Regions from separate parts of the Homo sapiens genome. Here region 2 is linked to region 1. Evidence: promoter capture Hi-C in 16 types of primary human blood cells and fetal thymus (Javierre and others, 2016). All regions are on one chromosome and are shown on one strand. Each heading gives the region's core, a stretch centred on a gene start or on the middle of the fragment in contact. The rest is flanking DNA. Distances are from core to core; before and after follow the strand shown. Region 1 holds the start of PRMT6 (protein arginine methyltransferase 6). Region 2 holds the start of EEIG2 (EEIG family member 2).

Evidence for each region. Contacts are between HindIII fragments. The CHiCAGO score rates a contact against its expected background, and 5 or more counts as called.
Region 2: a contact is called between a fragment that was not itself captured here and the fragment with the promoter of PRMT6 in region 1, in 1 of 17 cell types (fetal thymus). The highest score is 8.9, in fetal thymus.

What each region holds. Positions count from the first base shown.
Region 1 is chr1:107,053,767-107,058,743 of GRCh38, reverse strand. It overlaps PRMT6 (protein arginine methyltransferase 6), which reads right to left and starts at 2,070. Exons shown (of 1, transcript NM_018137.3): 1 at 1-2,070. The coding sequence starts at 2,028. The coding sequence ends at 901. RefSeq lists enhancers at 1,269-1,478, 1,489-1,618, 1,629-1,768, 1,789-1,838. The HindIII fragment of the contact is 2,330 bases long and covers 2,007-4,336 here.
Region 2 is chr1:108,556,500-108,561,476 of GRCh38, reverse strand. It overlaps EEIG2 (EEIG family member 2), which reads right to left and starts at 1,377. Exons shown (of 11, transcript NM_001010883.3): 1 at 912-1,377. The coding sequence starts at 1,048. RefSeq lists enhancers at 174-223, 687-786 and a silencer at 1,177-1,716. The HindIII fragment of the contact is 1,122 bases long and covers 1,603-2,724 here.

The DNA of each region.
Region 1 (4,977 bases), core at 821-3,320:
GAGTTTAAATAATTTACCCATGGTGATGAATAAGCCCTTGGGCTAGGCTCAGAAACCTCCTCTACCAGCCTGTTTCATAAGAATTACACAAATATTTTTATGGGACATACAAGAAATATTTTTTGGTTATAATAGTAGAGACAAGAATTTTTAAAAATCCATACTATTTCTTTCAGGTCTCTCTCTTAAATGCACCTTCTGAGTTTCTTAGGTATGCTGTACAATTACAAAGTCCATTTTACTTAACGGATTAATGTGTTCATCAACTTTAGCACCCTATGATGTATGTGGTCAGAGTAATGAGAACAGGGCTATTTAAACTGCTTCCTCATATCCTTCCCCTTAATTACCAGTAGTGAAGTTTACCTAGAAAACAATGAGGAAGAAGTACCATAGCCTACAGGCACCTAGGGAGGGGGAATTAATTCGGACTGAGAAAATATGGCTCTGGAGAGATACTAAAGTCGTACTGGAAATGTATGAAGTCTAAATGAACCCCTTTCTCCCCAGCTTCAGACTTAGATAAGGTGTGAGGTGTCAGGGATGTGCATGGACCCTTCAAAAACTGACATTTTCATCCGTGTTCTTCCCCCTCACTCCCCCGCGAAACAAAATATACGGAAATACAAGTGCTTGGTACTACATGCTTTTGAGGCTAAATGCCCAATAATAAGCACGCTGTATCCGTTGTTGAGGGGGATCACTTTTTAAGTAAACATCACCAGAAGAATCTCTTCAAATGGAGAATGAAGTCACTCTCCCTCCCTAGAGGCTATGAGGGAAAAGGGGGAGATATTCCCCCTACTTGCACGTGGGATCTCCCTTTCCCCTCCGACCTCGCTACGCCTCTCCCACGCAGGTCAGGCTGCTTTGGGAGGTAGCTGGGAGAAAAGGCAACGCTCAGTCCTCCATGGCAAAGTCTTTGGTCTTCTCCTCCTGGTCTCCCACTTTGTAGCGCAGCAGCACGCGCAGGCGACGGGGGTTGTCCCGGGAGGGCAGCAGCGTGATCTCTCCTGAAACGTCCGTGTCTTGCTCCACTTGCACCGGCTCGTTCAGGTAGAGGAGCGCCTGTTTCCAGTGAGTGGCCGGGTGAAAAGGCGAGGTGGACAGCACCAGGGGTTTCTCCGACTCCCCTCCAGGGAAGGTCACCTGGAACCAGATGGCAAAGCCATGCATGGGCGCCGAGCCATAGCAGCTGCAGCGGAAGCGCCCGCCCACTCCGGCCTCCAGCTCCTGCTCCAAGCCGGCGCGGGAGAGCTCTAGCTGAGCAAAGCGCTGCGGCCGGGCCAGCACGTCCTCGCCGGACAATCCCTGCACAACGATCTCCGAGTGGCCCATGAGACAGCGCGTGGCGAAGCCCTCCAGGCAGCTCATGTCCACACCATAGTGCTGCTTCACCTGGCTCCAGAAGCCCAGGCGCCATTCCAGCATCTGGTCGCTGATGGGGGCTATGAAGAGCTCGGCGGAGGCCGGCAGGAGAAGACCGCCCTCCTTCAGCCACTTGGTTCGCGCGTGGAGGACGGAGCTCAGCATGGACTCGTGCAGGAGTCCGTAGCCCATCCACTCGCTCACGATGGCATCCACCTGTTCCGGCAACTCTACAGTCTCCACTGGTCCCGGCAGGACGTGCACCCGGTCCTCCAGCCCGTTGAACCGCACCACCTCCCGGGCCTGTTGCCAGATGGCGCTGGCCTCTACCGCGTACACGCGCCGGGCCCCGGCCTGGGCACAGAAGATGCTCAGAATGCCGGTGCCCGCGCCCACGTCCAGTACCGTCTTGCCTCGCAGTGCTGCCCAGTTCCGAAGGATACCCAGGCGGTAGGCATCGGTGCGGACGCGGTCCGCGATCATCTCCTCGTGGACCGAAACGTCCGAGTAGCACTCGTAGTACAGCTGGTCCCGTTCCCGCTTAGTCCTCCGGGGTCGCTCCAGGGCCGCCTCCCGCTCCGCGCCATCTTCCTCTTCAGTTCCCTCCCCTCCTTCGCCGCCGCCCCCCGACTCAAGCTTTCTTTTCTTGGGCTGCGACATCTTGGCCGCTCTGCCCGGCTCCCGGCGGGCGTAGCGCGGCACGGCGCGGGCTCCAGGAAACGGGGGCTTCTGGGACTTGTAGTGCGCGCTCGTCCTTCCTACTTCCTGCGGGGTCGCCCGGCCGGCGGCGCGGAAGGTCTCCTGTGCCTGCTCACGGGAGCTGTTTTGTATTGCTCTTCTGGTGTCCTGGCATCCCTTTTCCCACCCACGACGCCCACATTCTGAGATCCTTTCATTCCCCCTCCCACCCTTAGCTCCTCAGTTTTTTGCTTTCACTCCCTTCCTGAAGTAGGCACGCACACTTAAGACTAATAATCCACCTTTGTTTCTTCTGCTGAACTCACCTCTGTTTTTTTTGTTTGTTTTTCTGTTTTTTGTTTTTTTTGAGAGGGAGTTTCGCTCTTGTTTCCCAGGCTGGAGTGCAATGGCGCGATCTCCGCTCACCGCAACCTCCGCCTCCTGGGTTCAAGCGATTCTCCTGCCTCAGCCTCCCGAGTTGCTGGGATTACGGGCGCATGCCACCAGGGCCGGCTAATTTTGTATTTTTGGTAGACGGGGTTTCTCCCTGTTGGTCAGGCTGGTCTCAAACTCGCGACCTCAGGTGATCCGCCCACCTCGGCCTCCCAAAGTGCTGGGATTACAAGCGTGAGCCACCGCGCCCGGCCTAACTCACCTCTGGTTTTATTCCACCGAATTAACATGGCAGCACCATCCACCCACTACCGCCTTAACTGGACAATTGTAGCTCTTAAAGTGCTCCAGCTGTGGCAATTTAGAAACTGCACTACGCATTTCTTTTTTCTGTTTTCAGTGCAGTTAGAGTGCAAATGTAACAAAATTAAAACCTAACAATGCAAAATCTTGGTTCTGATTCCAGTATGACCACTAATTAGTTGAGTGATTTAGGGCAAATAATAGAACTTCTCTGGCCTTTAGTTGCCCATTCACCCACCAGCGAATCTTCATTGCAGTTGGGGAAGAACTAGGTTTCTGGTTCTACTTAGAAGAATAGTTACTTGGCTTTCGGCTCTGCTCTGATAATTCTGTGGCTCTCTTAAGAGTTAAATCCTGAAAAGTGCAGACTCAAGAGCCATGTGATACAAGCAAACTCGTTGCTAGGTGTATTCTATATATATATGCGTTTTTTTCTCTCAGAAATAACGGAATCAATTTCTTTTAATCACTTTCTCAATGCAATTCATTTTTTCCTGTGTTTTCTTGTCCGGGCAATATTGACACTCTCCTCTTTCTCTTATATTTTTCTTGTAGTCAACCATCAGCTGTTACTCTCTTTTTGTTGTCCATAATGGAAATAAAATATGTTTTTAAATATGTGTGGCATCTGTATGGGTGTCCGTGTTATTAACAAGGTGGGCATAATGCCATTTTCTGCCAGCTTGAAAAAAAAGTCACTCAGAGTAAAATGGATTTTTATTTTCTTGTGGTCTTGAATTATGTCCTTGTAACCAATAGGCCTGTATTCCTTGTCTGGGATCAAAGTTCTTTCATCCTATTTTCTCTATTAATCTTTCATTAGCAGAATAGGTTTATTGATATGGCATCCTTAGCTGTACTCTACTTCTAACTCAAGACTCTCCATCCTGGCTGCTTATTAGAATTCTCTAAGGAGCTTTTTAAAAAATACCGATGCCTGGGTCTACCTCAGACCAATTAAATCGGAATCACTCCAGTGGAACCTGGGCTTCTAGTTTTTAAAAGCTCCCCAGGGAATTCTAATGGGCAGCCAGGGTGAGAACAACTGTTTCTCACTAAAATGATCTTAGTTAAATCTTGCTTCGTTATTTTAATTGGGTAAATTGTATTTTTTTCAGTGGCCTGGGCTCAACCATTTAAGGCTAAAAACCTTGAAGTATTTCTTCTCTTTTTCTGCCTTGGTTTAATATCTTATTTTAAGATAATTGAGGCCCAGTGTAGGACATCAGATTAGAGTTGTAAATGTGACCACTTTAATATGTTACTTTTATTAATAGGTTGTTACTTAGTGTATACTTTTGCCATTCTTTCTTTCCTCAAAATGTCACCTTTTCCTTTTAAATACATTCATTCCTTCACCCAATTTTCAATTCACTTCCTTATGGTCTCTTTTAAGAAAATTCTGAATATAAGTTTCACTGGTTCTACCTCCAAAATATATCTTGAATCCATCTGCTTTTCTCCATTTCTATTGTCAACACCCTAGTCTAATCTTCCATATTGACTTGCCTGAAAATTAGTCTCCTAAGGGATCGCTCAGCTTCTAATCTCAACCCTATCTAATCCCTTCTCTACATAGCTGAAAGAATAAGCTTTTATAAAACCCATTGGGCCATGTCATTCTTCAGTAACTTCCCGTGTTAGTTAATGGAACAATTCAGTAACTTCAGGTAACTTCCCATCTCATCTCATACCATTTTTCCCAACTCTTCATTGGGCTCAAGATATACTGGTTTCTAATAACACATTTCTTTCCTGTGTCAGGTCGTCATGCATACTCTTCTGGTGCTGAGAAAATTGTTTTTCTCCTTAGCACTTCACTTTAGTGGCTTCTCATCCTTCATGTCTCAACTTAAATGTTACCTCATGAAAAAGGCCTTTCCTGGCTTCCTTAAATAATATTTTCAAACCCAAGACACTATTTTGTTCCCTCCCAGCATTCATTATTATCTGTATGTATTTAATTAATTTATTTGTTTTCTATACAATATCAACTCCAGGAGACTTGGACTTTTGTATTCCCACTATTGCAGTCCTTAGCACTACAACAGAAGCTGGCACATAGAAAGTGCTCAATAAATAGTCTTGAACAAAGTCTATTGTGGATGTAGAGAGTTTTGCTTCATTAGTTCAATGTGACAATGTGACTTGGTAAACTCTGAGATAGATCCAGATATAGATAGAATGTGGAATGCTCCCAGAAATGAGAATAGTATAAATTTTAAATACTGTTAA
Region 2 (4,977 bases), core at 914-3,413, 1.5 Mb before region 1:
CCTAAGACCAGTATATATGGGCAAAATAACATTAACTTTTAACCCTTCTTGATCTCAGGAACTCAAAAGTTCATTTAAAAAATTGTTTTCTCTCTCTATGTATATATTTTAAAGAAAGCACCTTAGGGTACATCTGTCAACCTGTGAGTAGCTCTGAAATTACTCAAGAAACACTGCCACACCTATTATTAATGCCACACCTATTATTTAATAGCTTCATTCTGTAACCTGCTAATGCCTCTCTCTGGGAGTGCCCAGGGGCTCATTTTAAAATGAGGGCAGGGCCTGGGCTCCCCATCTGGCTCTAAGCCCTCCCACAAGGAGACCTACTAGTGGCCACTTCAAGACTAATTCATCCAGCATTAGCGCCTAACTGGAGACGCCGCTCTCTGATGAGGCACAGACCGTTGTCTCGTCTGCCAGGAGCACTTGACTCAAGTCAAGCCTGGCCAGGCCTACCCCAGCCTCAGAGTGGGTGGCCAAGTCCCCTTGTAATCTACAAGGGAGAAGGAATTGTGCTAAGCACAGGTTTCTGTTCAGAGCTGGGCTCTTGGAACTCCTGCAGTTTGGGTTATTTTAGTTTTTAACAGCTCAAGTTCTACTTTGCATTTCACAAATATGGAAATGTCTTAAGAGAAAACAGAAGCATCCTCCCTCTCTGGCCATTGCTCCCATTCCTAGAGGATTTGGGAGGGAAGAGCAGATACCAGGCACCATCTGGAGTCAGGAGCGCAGGAACCAAGGCCAGCTGAGAAGAACCCATTTGCAAAGCACTTTGCAGATCAATAAATTCGACTGATTTTAGAGCGGTCCCTAGGGAAAGGCGAGCAAATGGGCCAAGGAGAGATGCTGCCCATCCAACAAGCCCTGGCCAAGCAGAAAGGGGCGAGGCGGCGCGGGAGGCGAGTTACCTGGAGGACTCGGCGGTGAAGCTGCCGCCGTCCAGCAGCCGCATCTTGCAGAAGAGGACCCCATTGACGAAGGGCACTGAGGAGAGCTCCTCGAGCTCGAAGTCCACCTTAAACTTAAACTTCTTCTTCTTCATCATCGTGAGAGCCAGGCGCCTGCAAGCTGGGCGCACGGCCGGGCGCCGCCGCCTCAGCTTGGCCGAGCCCCGGATCAGCCCAGCCCCATGGCCGGGGCCGCGAGCTGTGCGCGGGGGCGCGGCCGGGGGGCGCCGCAGGCCGGCCGCGGCCGGGGCCGCTGCCGCCGCCTCTCGCGGCAGCCTGGGCCGGAACGCGGCGGCAGCTGCGGCGCGGACCCCGACCGCCCGCGGGGAGCGGTCGTGCTGCAGCTCGCCCGGGGAGGTGAGCGCCCTTTTGGTGCTCAGCTCGCCGCCGCCGCCGCCGCCGCCTCCGCCGCCGCTGCCGCCCGTCTGGGAGTCGGGAGAGGCGAGGCTCGAGGAACCGCCGCCTCAGCGCCTCGGGGGTCGGGGGCGCCCCCAGCGGCCGCGGCCTGCAGCGCACGGCGGGGCGGAAGCCGGAGGGAGGGCGGGGACTTTGTGGGCGGGCGCGGGCTTGGCCGCGGACTCTAACCCGCGACGGCAGTTAGCACGTCACGCCTTTCTGGGGTTAAAAAAAGACAAACCCGACAGAGAAAGCTTCCTTCTACCGCTTCCTCTCCGCCTTTCTTTTCAGTTTTTGCACCGCCTCCTTTCTCCCCCACCCCCTCCAGTGGTTTCTTTCCTTTGGGTTTGAGAGCCATGGGTTAATAGAGGCAATTAAAATCTCAGCGTTGTTTTGGTCAAATTGAAATCCTAAAACTAAAATTTCCGTTAGGTACTCTAAATTCACGAGCCTTCAAATATAAAAGGAAGATAAGGTAGGAAAAAGGAAAATGATGTGCTGAGGGACTATCAAGGGCCCAGGCACCGTACTGCTGCAGGCGCTTTCTCTGGGGTATAGCTTATCTAGTTCCTGTCACCCAGGACAAAAGATAAAAGAGCAAAGAAGCAGTTAAAATAATACCCTCCCTTTAAAAATTTGTCTGTCTATACTGAGAACTGAAATGCTTAAAATCAAATTCTGCAGGCAGTCTGGCATGGCTACGCTGTAATCCCAGCTACTCGGGAGGCTGAGGAGGGAGGTTAGCCTGAGCCGGGGAAGCGGAGCTTGCAATGATCGGAGATCGCGCCACTGCACTCTAGCCTGGGCAACAGAACAAGCCCCTGTCTTAAAAACAAAACAAAATCTTCAGAGCAGGCTTAAAAAAAAATCTCCCTAGGGGAATAACAATTACCTGCCTTCTGTAATCATGCATGTATTGTTACAATGAATGTTACAAAGTTGGTTACGTGATGTTCATGTTTTTAAACTGAGTTATTGTCATTTTCACTCAGATTCTGCCACAGTAATTCTGAAAGGGTTTAATTGAAAATATTTTCTTTCTCAGTTTACTCGTTTACTCATTCATTCATATAAAAAAATTGCTTAAAATGTCAATCATCGGCTAGACCCCATAACCAAAAGCCAATAACTGCCCTCAAGAATTTTACAATCTAGTGAGGAAGACATGTTTAGACAGGTCATTAAAAAAACACAACCTAGCACCAAGCTATGTAGAACTCAGAGAAGCAATTAATTGAAGTTAATCAGTTTTCTGAATTTCAAAGGATGAAAATGATTTGGGACAAAGTGGGGTAAGTTGTTCTAGGAGAAATAAATTAAAAAAAAAAAAAGATTCAGAGGCAGGTTCGGGGGTGGGGATTTGGTAATGGATAAAGCTTCTTACCCTGCAGGACAGGGGGCAAAGACAGTGAGATGCATTTGGGGACTTTGAGATTTGTCATTTAGAGCACTGGATGAATGTTAATTTCATTGACTGAACATTGAAAGCAAGAGGAGGGCAGGTTGGGAATGGAAGAGATAATGAGTCTTTATGGGATCTGCTTGCAGTACATCTAGGGAGAGAGAGGCAGCCTTAGCTCATAAAAATGCATTGGCAATTGAAAATATACATTTGGGAATTGAGGTAATCGCTGATGGCTGAAGCCCAAAAGGTGGATAAGGATGAGTTACTCTGAAGAATATTTAAAGGGTAGGCAAAGAGGAGATCGTGAAGGTGCCTAAGAACAAGCAGTCAAGAGAAAAAGGAGATGAAGAAAGAGATGGCCTGGAAGCCCAGACGGTTTTAATCATGTAACATTCGTAGTTACAAAGTTCTATTGTGTGCCAGGCACTATGCTGGGTACTAGAGATGCAAATGAATAAGACATAGGGGCTTATAAAGGAATGGAGAAAAACAGAGATATGCAAACAGATCAACTAAAGTGTGTGTGTGTGGTATGTGAGTATGTGTGTGTGAGAGAGAGAAGAGAGAGAGAAAGAAAGAGAGAGAGCAATCTGTGATCCATGTAGGACAGAGGACCATTTCAAGAGAGTGCTGCAGAGCAGTCCCAGAGGATTTGGACTGAAAAGAAGCTACTGAATTGAAGGTCTAGGAGGTCATTGGTAATCTTGGCAAGAGAAGTCATCATAAAAGATAGTGACAAAGTAAGATGAAAAGTGACAAAGTAAGTGAAAAGATGACAGTGAAAAGTAAGATAGTGACAAAGTAATGTGGGTAAATAAAAATTATATTTTTATTGATGTTTTTCTGATTTTTTTGTCAGCGAATGAAAAGAGAGAGAGAATGGTGACCAGAGGAGGACAGTTCAATCTTTTTCAATAACATTCAGGAACTATCCAATATTTATTGAGTGTCTATTAGGTGCCAAGCACCTTAATAGGTCCTATGGATTTGAAATGCCGTCCCTGTCTTAGATCTCACGGTCTACTGGAGGACACAGAGAAGTAAGCAGGCAGTTGCAGTACAATGTAACACTGAGTGCTGTCTGTGTATGATGGTGAGTGGAGACTGCTGTGGGAGACTATAAAAGCTAACAGGGATAAGTAGTAGGTTTATGGAATGCCTTCTAGGGTAAGTGAAGCCTGAATTCAGGCCTTTAAGCTGAGGCCTGAATAATGAGCATGGGTGGGGAGCAGTTTCCAGGAAGGAGGTAGTGTCTGTGCAGAGGCTCAAAGGAAGAGAGACCATGTTGCAGAGGGAACTGAAATTAGTTCTGTCTGGCTGCAACTTAGAGTTGGGTACAGTGACAGGGGTTAACAAAGAGCCATTGAAGTTTTAAAGAAGAAGCATGATATATTCAGATTTACATTTTGTAAAGCTCTTCTACTTTATAAAATGGAAGATAGGAGACAGTCTGTTACTGTTTTTTAGACTCATGGTTTGATTATTAAACCCCTGATAGGAGTCATAGTCAAGGCAGGAAACAGATATCATATTCAATGTGTTTAAATGGGGAAAATTTAATGAAAGGACTCTTCACAGAGTTGACAGGGTAAGGGACCCACAGTCTGGTGAGAAGTTGAAAGGAAGAAGGGATAAATATCCTGATTTCTCTCACCTCCTACTTTCTGATCTCTTGGTGGTGCTTCCCATGATCCAAAACCAACCAAGGCCAGAGGGTAGAGGGGCTCGGAACATGCAGTTCATACAGGACAGACTCCTGGGGCACAAAGTAGGGCACTGAAAGGTAGAGAATGGTTGGAGGTAAGGGGATGGAAAGCCACTAGCACACAAAGGATACAGTCAGGGTTCACCATAGGAAGCTGAAACCACTCTGGATGTTTCAAAAAAAAAAAAAAAAAGGGATTTCATTCAGGCACTTCACTGCTTCTGAAATCTGTGGAAGGGCTGAAGGGGTTGAGGTCAGCAGACTGTCGAATTCAAAGTCACATGCTTTGTGGTAAACATTACTAGTGTTCACTAGTATCCGGTCCTCCTTGATTTCTGAGCATATGGGAGTTTACAGTTCCCAATTCCCTTGCGGTTAGTGGGGCCTTGTGATGAGGTCTAGCCAATAAAATGTGAGAAGTAACACGTCACTTCCAGGATGAAACAGTGAAAAGCCTTTGAGCAGTTCTCTAGACTACCTCTTCCCTGCCACAATAGTTATAGAGGAGACCTTGGGTTAAG